Linked DNA regions of Homo sapiens: region 2 is linked to region 1. The links are contacts of gene promoters, found by promoter capture Hi-C in blood cells and fetal thymus (Javierre and others, 2016). All regions are on one chromosome and are shown on one strand. The core of a region is centred on a gene start or on the middle of the fragment in contact, and the rest is flanking DNA. Distances in the headings are between cores, read along the strand shown. Region 1 holds the start of TNP1 (transition protein 1). Region 2 has its middle 120 kb from the start of DIRC3-AS1.

What was found. Contacts are between HindIII fragments. The CHiCAGO score rates a contact against its expected background, and 5 or more counts as called.
Region 2: a contact is called between a fragment that was not itself captured here and the fragment with the promoter of TNP1 in region 1, in 1 of 17 cell types (megakaryocytes). The highest score is 6.0, in megakaryocytes.

Annotation. Positions count from the first base shown.
Region 1 is chr2:216,858,568-216,862,189 of GRCh38, reverse strand. TNP1 (transition protein 1) reads left to right here and starts at 2,126. Exons shown (of 2, transcript NM_003284.4): 1 at 2,126-2,294; 2 at 2,495-2,732. The coding sequence starts at 2,156. The coding sequence ends at 2,523. LOC124906118 (a long non-coding RNA gene) reads left to right here. Exons shown (of 3, transcript XR_007088082.1): 2 at 1,208-1,265; 3 at 1,830-1,936. The HindIII fragment of the contact is 13,346 bases long and covers 1-3,622 here.
Region 2 is chr2:217,162,362-217,165,890 of GRCh38, reverse strand. No RefSeq gene overlaps it. Among named protein-coding and RNA genes, the nearest start is that of DIRC3-AS1, 120 kb to the left of the region's middle. The HindIII fragment of the contact is 3,492 bases long and covers 1-3,132 here.

The DNA of each region.
Region 1 (3,622 bases), core at 877-3,376:
AACCAGCCTTGAGTGGACGCAGAAGGTCTGGACTACCAACAAGCAAGCCAGCAGCCTGTTTTATAGAACTTCTTCATGTGAATAAAAGTCACCAACAAGTCACCAATAGAAGGTCTCCAGAGAGACCTGCCCAGAAGCAGGAAAATGGAAAGTGTCACATATGGTGGCTATACAAGGAATCTGGGTTTCAAAACTCAATTTGCCATCTATAGATATCAGAAAACCAGGGAGTGGGACTTGAACTACTTTCGCTCTTCTATTCAACCAACTTTTGCTAAGGATCTCCTGCATACAAGATGCTCAGTTCTTGAATGAGGGTAATGACAATGGAGAGAGGAGAGACAAATGGAAGAAATAGCAAACAAGTTCTATAGAAATCCGAATGAGGCGGGCACAGTGGCTCACGTCTGTAATCCCAGCACTCTGGGAGGCCAAGGTGGGCAGATCACCTGAGATCAGGAGTTCAAGACTAGCCTGGCCAACATGGCGAAACGCTGTCTGTACTAAAAATACAAAAATTAGCTAGGCATGGTGGCACACGCCTGTAATCCCAGCTACTCAGAAGGCTGAGGCAGGAGAATTGCTGGAACACAGGAGGCAGATGTTGCAGTGAACCAAGATTGTGCCACTGCACTCCAGCCTGAGCAAAAGAGAAGACTCGGTCTCAAAAAAAAAAAAAGAAAGAAACATTTTCAAAAGCAAAGCATTTACTATGAGGTGTAATGGAGGAAAAAGGAAAGGCTGGATGACTTATACACCAATAATCATTCAATATATCTATTTGTAAGTGTCAAAGGCACTTCAAAGCTGGTATGTCTTATACCAAGTACATGATCATCACTCTCCCCATGTCTGGCCTTTATCCCCATGAATGGCACCAGCATCCAGATAACTGCATTATACAGAAACAAAAGCCACACCCTTGACACCATCTGCTTTCACCTCCCAAATTCAATCCGTCACCAAGCCTTGGTCTCTTGTCTACTTTAGATCTCAATCAACACCTTTCCTGGCCAGACCTAAACCATCATCAAATCTTTCTCTCTGCTGAACCATTGATGTTGACAGTAGCATCTCCCTTTACACAGCTCCTCCAGTCAATACATCACCCACTTGGCACCCTCTAATCTCACATGCCATCCTCTTAACATTTTTAAAGGCTTCCCAATGTACTTGATCATGGTTTGATCTCTGTCTCTCCCTCCAGCCTCATCCTGTACCATGTAGGGAGTTTCCCTCTGCCCTTCTCCAGCCAAAATGACTCCGTAAGTACTTACTCACTGATTTATGTAGACATCTGATGAATGGCTTTCTCCCCAGTGGGCTGAGAGTTCCATGAGCACAGTATCTACGTGTGTTTATCCTCCACTAATTTTCTACCACCTAAATGTATGGCATATGCTATGTGATCAATATCTGTGACTGAATTTTAAAAAATGATTAGGTTAATTGTTCTGAACCAGAGCCATTTTTTCCCTCACTTCCCCAGCCTCCCAAAGAAACAGGTGGCAATGTTTGGGAATATTTTGGGTTGTCATAGCTGCCAGGCTTCTCTGGTGTCCAGTGGGTAATGGCCAGGGATGTTGCCAAACATCCTAGGGTGCACAAGACAGCCCACTGAAAGTTACCCTGCCCATTGTGTCAACAGTGCCAAGACTGAGAAATCCTGACCTAGATGAAAAAGAAGGAATATTTCTATTTTGATCATATTGAATTGGGTTCTGTAGAGTCAAGTCCTTACAGAAATAAATTTATTATCTCTGGATGCTGTGAGAGACTTAAACAGTCATGCATACACACACACTCAATGACTGTTACATTTCCTACAGGCAGGAGAAGCATATCTGAATGGTCTCTTGTACTCATCCAATGCCTGGCACAGGGCTGGGATTCAGTTTCTCAATAACACCTCTCTGGGAAAGCCTCACTTAACATAAAAAGGACCTCAAAACTGAGGGCAGCCCTTGAGCTGCACGAAAAGGACCACCTTATTTCACAAATGTGACCAAAGTGCAGCAAAGGTGAGTGACAGCACAGTAGAGCCCCGCCCACCTGCTGAGCCATGCCCCTTCCCTGTCACAATGGCCAAGGCCTTAAATACCCAGACTCCTGGCCCCCGGGCCTTGCAAAGCCCCTCATTTTGGCAGAACTTACCATGTCGACCAGCCGCAAATTAAAGAGTCATGGCATGAGGAGGAGCAAGAGCCGATCTCCTCACAAGGGAGTCAAGAGAGGTGGCAGCAAAAGAAAATACCGTAAGGGCAACCTGAAAAGTAGGAAACGGGGCGATGACGGTGAGTGAGGGATGGGGAGGAGATTGCCAAACTTAGGCACACATTGCTGCCAGGCCCTCCCTCTTGGAGGCAGCTCTCACAGGACCCTGAAATCTTGGCCTGAGATTATTTCCAATAACTAAATGCAGATTTGAGCAACAAGAGTCTTGATGGGAATGTTCTAATTCGTGTCTCTGTTGCAAACCTGTCCTTTCCCACAGCCAATCGCAATTACCGCTCCCACTTGTGAGCCCCCAGCGGGCTCTGCCCTGGTGCGCTTCACACAGCACCAAGCAGCAACAAGAACAGCAGAAGGGGAACTGCCAAGGAGACCTGATGTTAGATCAAAGCCAGAGAGGAGCCTATGGAATGTGGATCAAATGCCAGTTGTGACGAAATGAGGAATGTATATGTTGGCTGTTTTTCCCCAACATCTCAATAAAACTTTGAAAGCAGAAATGTTTACTTTGATCTTTTGGTTGGAAAGACTTGAGTTCCTGAGCTAGGTGGGTTTGGGGAAGAATTGGCCAGTATGAAACCATTAAATGTGACTTGGAAAATATCAAAAGTAATTTGTCCTCCAATTCCCTCCCACCACCGTGGGAGGTGGTCCTACTCTGGCCACACACTATTGCCGTATTTGTCTTCATCCCAGTGTGCTGTCTCTCTCCTCAACATGGAAAGGGAGAAGAGATAAAAAAGGGAGAAATGCATTCATTAGCATTAACCAAAGGATTCAAGCTGTTTTTGTTAGAGCTTAAACCAAAGGATGCAAGCTGTTTTCGTCAGAGCTTATAGCATAGAGGTGTTGAAAGCTAAACTAAATCTAAAGACTTGGCCCGGAGATAGAGATCACCTGGAGGAGCTCTTAGAAGCTCTTAATTCATTGATCATATGGGCAGTATTAGCAGGCTAAGAGATGGGAACACCTTCTGAACAGAGACCAACATGTTCTTTGTAAAGGATCCTATTGGTAACAGTGGAAGTGATGAGAGTTTAGATTTCTTTAGGTTATTTTGGTAGCTATGTTGGGCTTGAGGTGGGCAAGACTGAAGAGTGGGATATTGCCTCGTAGCATGCCATAAGCCTTAGTCCAGTGTGCCTAGAAGTAGGAATTGTCTCAATCTGAGTATTGATCATTTGACAGAGAGAGAGAGAGAGAACTGACTTTAGGGATAGAGCTGGTTCTGCTCATTTAGGAAATTCCTAAGCCCTCACTTTACCTTGTCCCTGAGTTGTAACACAATTTATGATGTCTCTGGTCAAGGATATGACATTCACCCACTCAGAGGTGGATCGTATTTTTCTTGTTTCCTGTTGCCTCAGAGGTAGCTCCAGGGTAGAAATGA
Region 2 (3,529 bases), core at 137-2,636, 300 kb before region 1:
TACTTAAAAACTTCTCAAAAATACAGATTGAGTCTATGTAATCACCACACCATTTGAGAAAGGCAAAAATTTAGTCAATTAAGTTATATGTTAGTCTGAATAAAATCAACAAACAGATTATTTGGGTCAATGAAGAAGTATCTTACGCAATTCCAAAACAGCCAATCAAATTCACTCAGACAAATATGAATCAACACAAGGAAAAACAATCAGTCAAGAATGCTGCTTTGGATCATGAAAATCAAACCCTAAACTGAAGGCTTGAGTTTTTAACTTTTCAATAGTTATGTTTAATATTGTATAGAAGATGACTCCTTTGTTATCATAACTGTGCATGGGATATACTTTTTCCCTAAAGATGATAGACAGATAGAGAAATTGATAGACAGACAGACAGACAGAATAATTCAGATTGAGTGTCATATAAATGACTTACCTAATTGGTTAAACCAGAGGTTCTTGCTGCAGCAGGAAAGATAGGAGAAGGTCATTTTTCTGAGGCAAGGTTTAGCTCTTTGGAGACAATGAACACCTGGGTGGTTTCCTACAGAGCCAGTTGAAATCATTAAGAAAGATGGTCTTTTCTTTCTAGTTTCTTATTAATTTACCTACATTCTGAGTTCTGGATCCATGACCTGCATTTGTTTTTAAATTTTCTTTTTAAAAATAAAATATATATTATATATTCATGAGGTATAAAGTGATTCTCTCTCTCTCTCTCGATGGGATCTCACTATGTTGCCCAGGCTGAACTTTCATTTCTGGGCTCAAGCAATCCTCCTGCTTCAGCCTCCTGAGTAATTGGGAATACAGGAGTGCACCACTGCACCCAGCTTGAAATGTGATGTTTTGATATATGTTTACATTGCATGGCCTCTGTTATTGTACTATGTCAGAACCTTTCTAACTTTGATCATTTTACTTCCATTATCCTTGTCACGTTTGACCCAGCCATTGCTCTGAGACTCTGTCCTTCCCTCGTGGAACAATGAGAGCTCTCACCTTTTGGTTCTGATTCCATCCCAACCCTTCTCCCCAGGAGTCTTGCTTTTTCTGGAATTGATCTATTTATAACATTGCCTCAGTTTTTAGGTTCTTCTCAGTGTCAGCTATGTTGAGTCTGTTAAAGATATCTTGGCTATTTGACTTGGTTTTCATCAAGTTCCTTGGCTTCTACCTTTTAAATGACATTTTTTTTTCACATAATTGTTATTTTTCTGGGCTCTGGCCACTGATTTCTCCATATTCTCTATTTCTTGACTCTTTCATTAGCTTAACAGCATAACTTCCATCTTCACTCCCCCAGTTCTGTTTTCAGAGATCTACTTTTAATGGCTAAGCCCAGCCCAAATTGACAGTGTCCATCCTCTTTGCAAGCCTTGGGCCCTCCCTCACTACCCCCAGCACAGACTTCATCTTCTAGGACAGTCCCCAGTGCTACAGGGGAGGTGAGTTCAAGAGAAAGTGCCCCAGGATCTTCTTAGCATTATTTTCCCCACAGTGGGACTTTGAAGCTGCCTTTCTAGCCTGCCTTCCAGCTGTTAGCAAACACACACTTTTTAAAATTAGGAAATGAACATGATAGTTCTACTCCCAGCCAGGAGCTCATCTAGTATGCTCCAGGAAAAGGATGATTAATGGAGCTAAGGCTTTATGTCTAAGCCAGGGGATGGCAGCTTGTGGGGAATAACTGAGCCACACCAGCCCGCCACAGCCTCAGATCAGGTGAACTGCACATGGCGTTAGGCCCACTGGAGGCCCTTAAAGTTAGCCAGTGGCCTGGCAGAAAGTGCACACACAATAAGTGCCTGGTGGACACACATGGCCCAAAGGAACGGGGCAGTTTTTCAATTCTTCGGTTTATATAGAGAACCAACCTACACAACCTTGGCCTTCAGAATCTTGCCAGCAGTTAGAGTATCCAGACTGGCTGTCCAGACCACCTAAATTACATGGATAAAAGCAAAAGATTTCCTTCACTGAATACCACGTGGACTTGTTTCCAAGTCCTTTTTGGGTTTGAGGCCTTACTTGTAATCATCCCTCACAAGAGGGGGGAAAAATAAAAGAAAGAAAAATGTAGGGAATTTGAGTTCTACTTCACCAAGGGCTTAGGATGGAGAATAGGAAAGTTCTGCAGGATCTTGGCTGAGCAGTGGTTTTCTGCTTCTTTAAACGTCAAAATTAACCTGATTGAGTGAACTATTCAAAAAGCACATCCATCAATTTTTGTTTCATCTGAGGTTTGGAGTGCCAAGGACTTACAACATAAGGCCTCAGACCACTCTGGTTTAATGCCAGGGGATACTTAGGGGTTCCTGGGGATGGTAATTATGATCATAACCCTCTGCCTGCCAAACTCCTATGCACTACACCCAACCCAGATGCTACTCTTCCTGTGAGATCTTACCCAGATCCTCTCTGGTTCCTCTGTGGTCCTCTAACACTTGGTGTGGCTTCTTTGGCTTAACTGGACAAGTCACCACGTTAATTCATTTATTTTCCTTCATTAAAAAAATTGTTCACCCATGACCTCTGCAAAAATAAATAAATAAAATAGAAAGAAATGCGTAAAAACAAAACCTACCCTTTACTCTCTCCTCTCAGAAGAGAGAACCACCGTTTGTAATCAGCACAAGGAAAGTGGGAACACTAAAGAAATCACTATAAGATAGCAGCTGCCCTCAAAACTAAAACCAGTCACTTTAAAATACATGCTCCCGTGTGATCCCTGGATGAGGTTCTTTTCTCTTTAGTAAAACGGAGATTTTCAGGATTCAACCCGGAGAGGTAAAATCACTGAGCTTATAAATGAGGAAACTGGAATCAAAGACCTGAATTTTTGTCTTTTCCTTTTTCCCACCATGTTGTGTCCCAGTGTGCCCCAGCATCCTTAGAGACAAAGGCCTGGAGGAAGCACAAAGAGACTTCTATTTTCATCTTTTGGTTCTAGCAAGATGAGGATCAGCAGGCAGGCAGACACACTTGGGAATAATGGCTCTGCTCTCTCAACCGAGCCCCCGCCCCAGTGCCTTCATCCCCACTTTGGGGTGACCTCGGCAGAACAAGCTCTCTCTGTAATGATCACTTCGTCAGCAGGGGCTGTGTATTTAGTAGCAGGAAATATAAGCTTTTGTGGTCAGTGTGACGTCACCCCACCCACTAAACAGGCCTTTATAATTTGACCACAAAAAGGCTTGAAAGGGATAGACACATACACGCAGGGAAGGAGGCGATAGGACTGTCAACAGTTGTCTGTGTAGTGAAAGGAGCATTGTGTCTTCCAAATGTTTCCCGAAAGCCTGATGTTTGGTCTGCTGTAGACAAAACATCTGGATGATATATGGCGATTTCTCTTTGTATTTGAGTGCCCCAACTCATCTCCTTCCTTTCTCCTCTCTCTTTTCTACCTCTCGTTTTCTCTTTTCCTCATTCCCTTCATCCTCCTGCTTCCCTTTTTTCTCTTTTTACTCTGACTTAATCTAAAATAGACAAGTATATATTTTTAAATCATTGAGTTGTTTTCAAA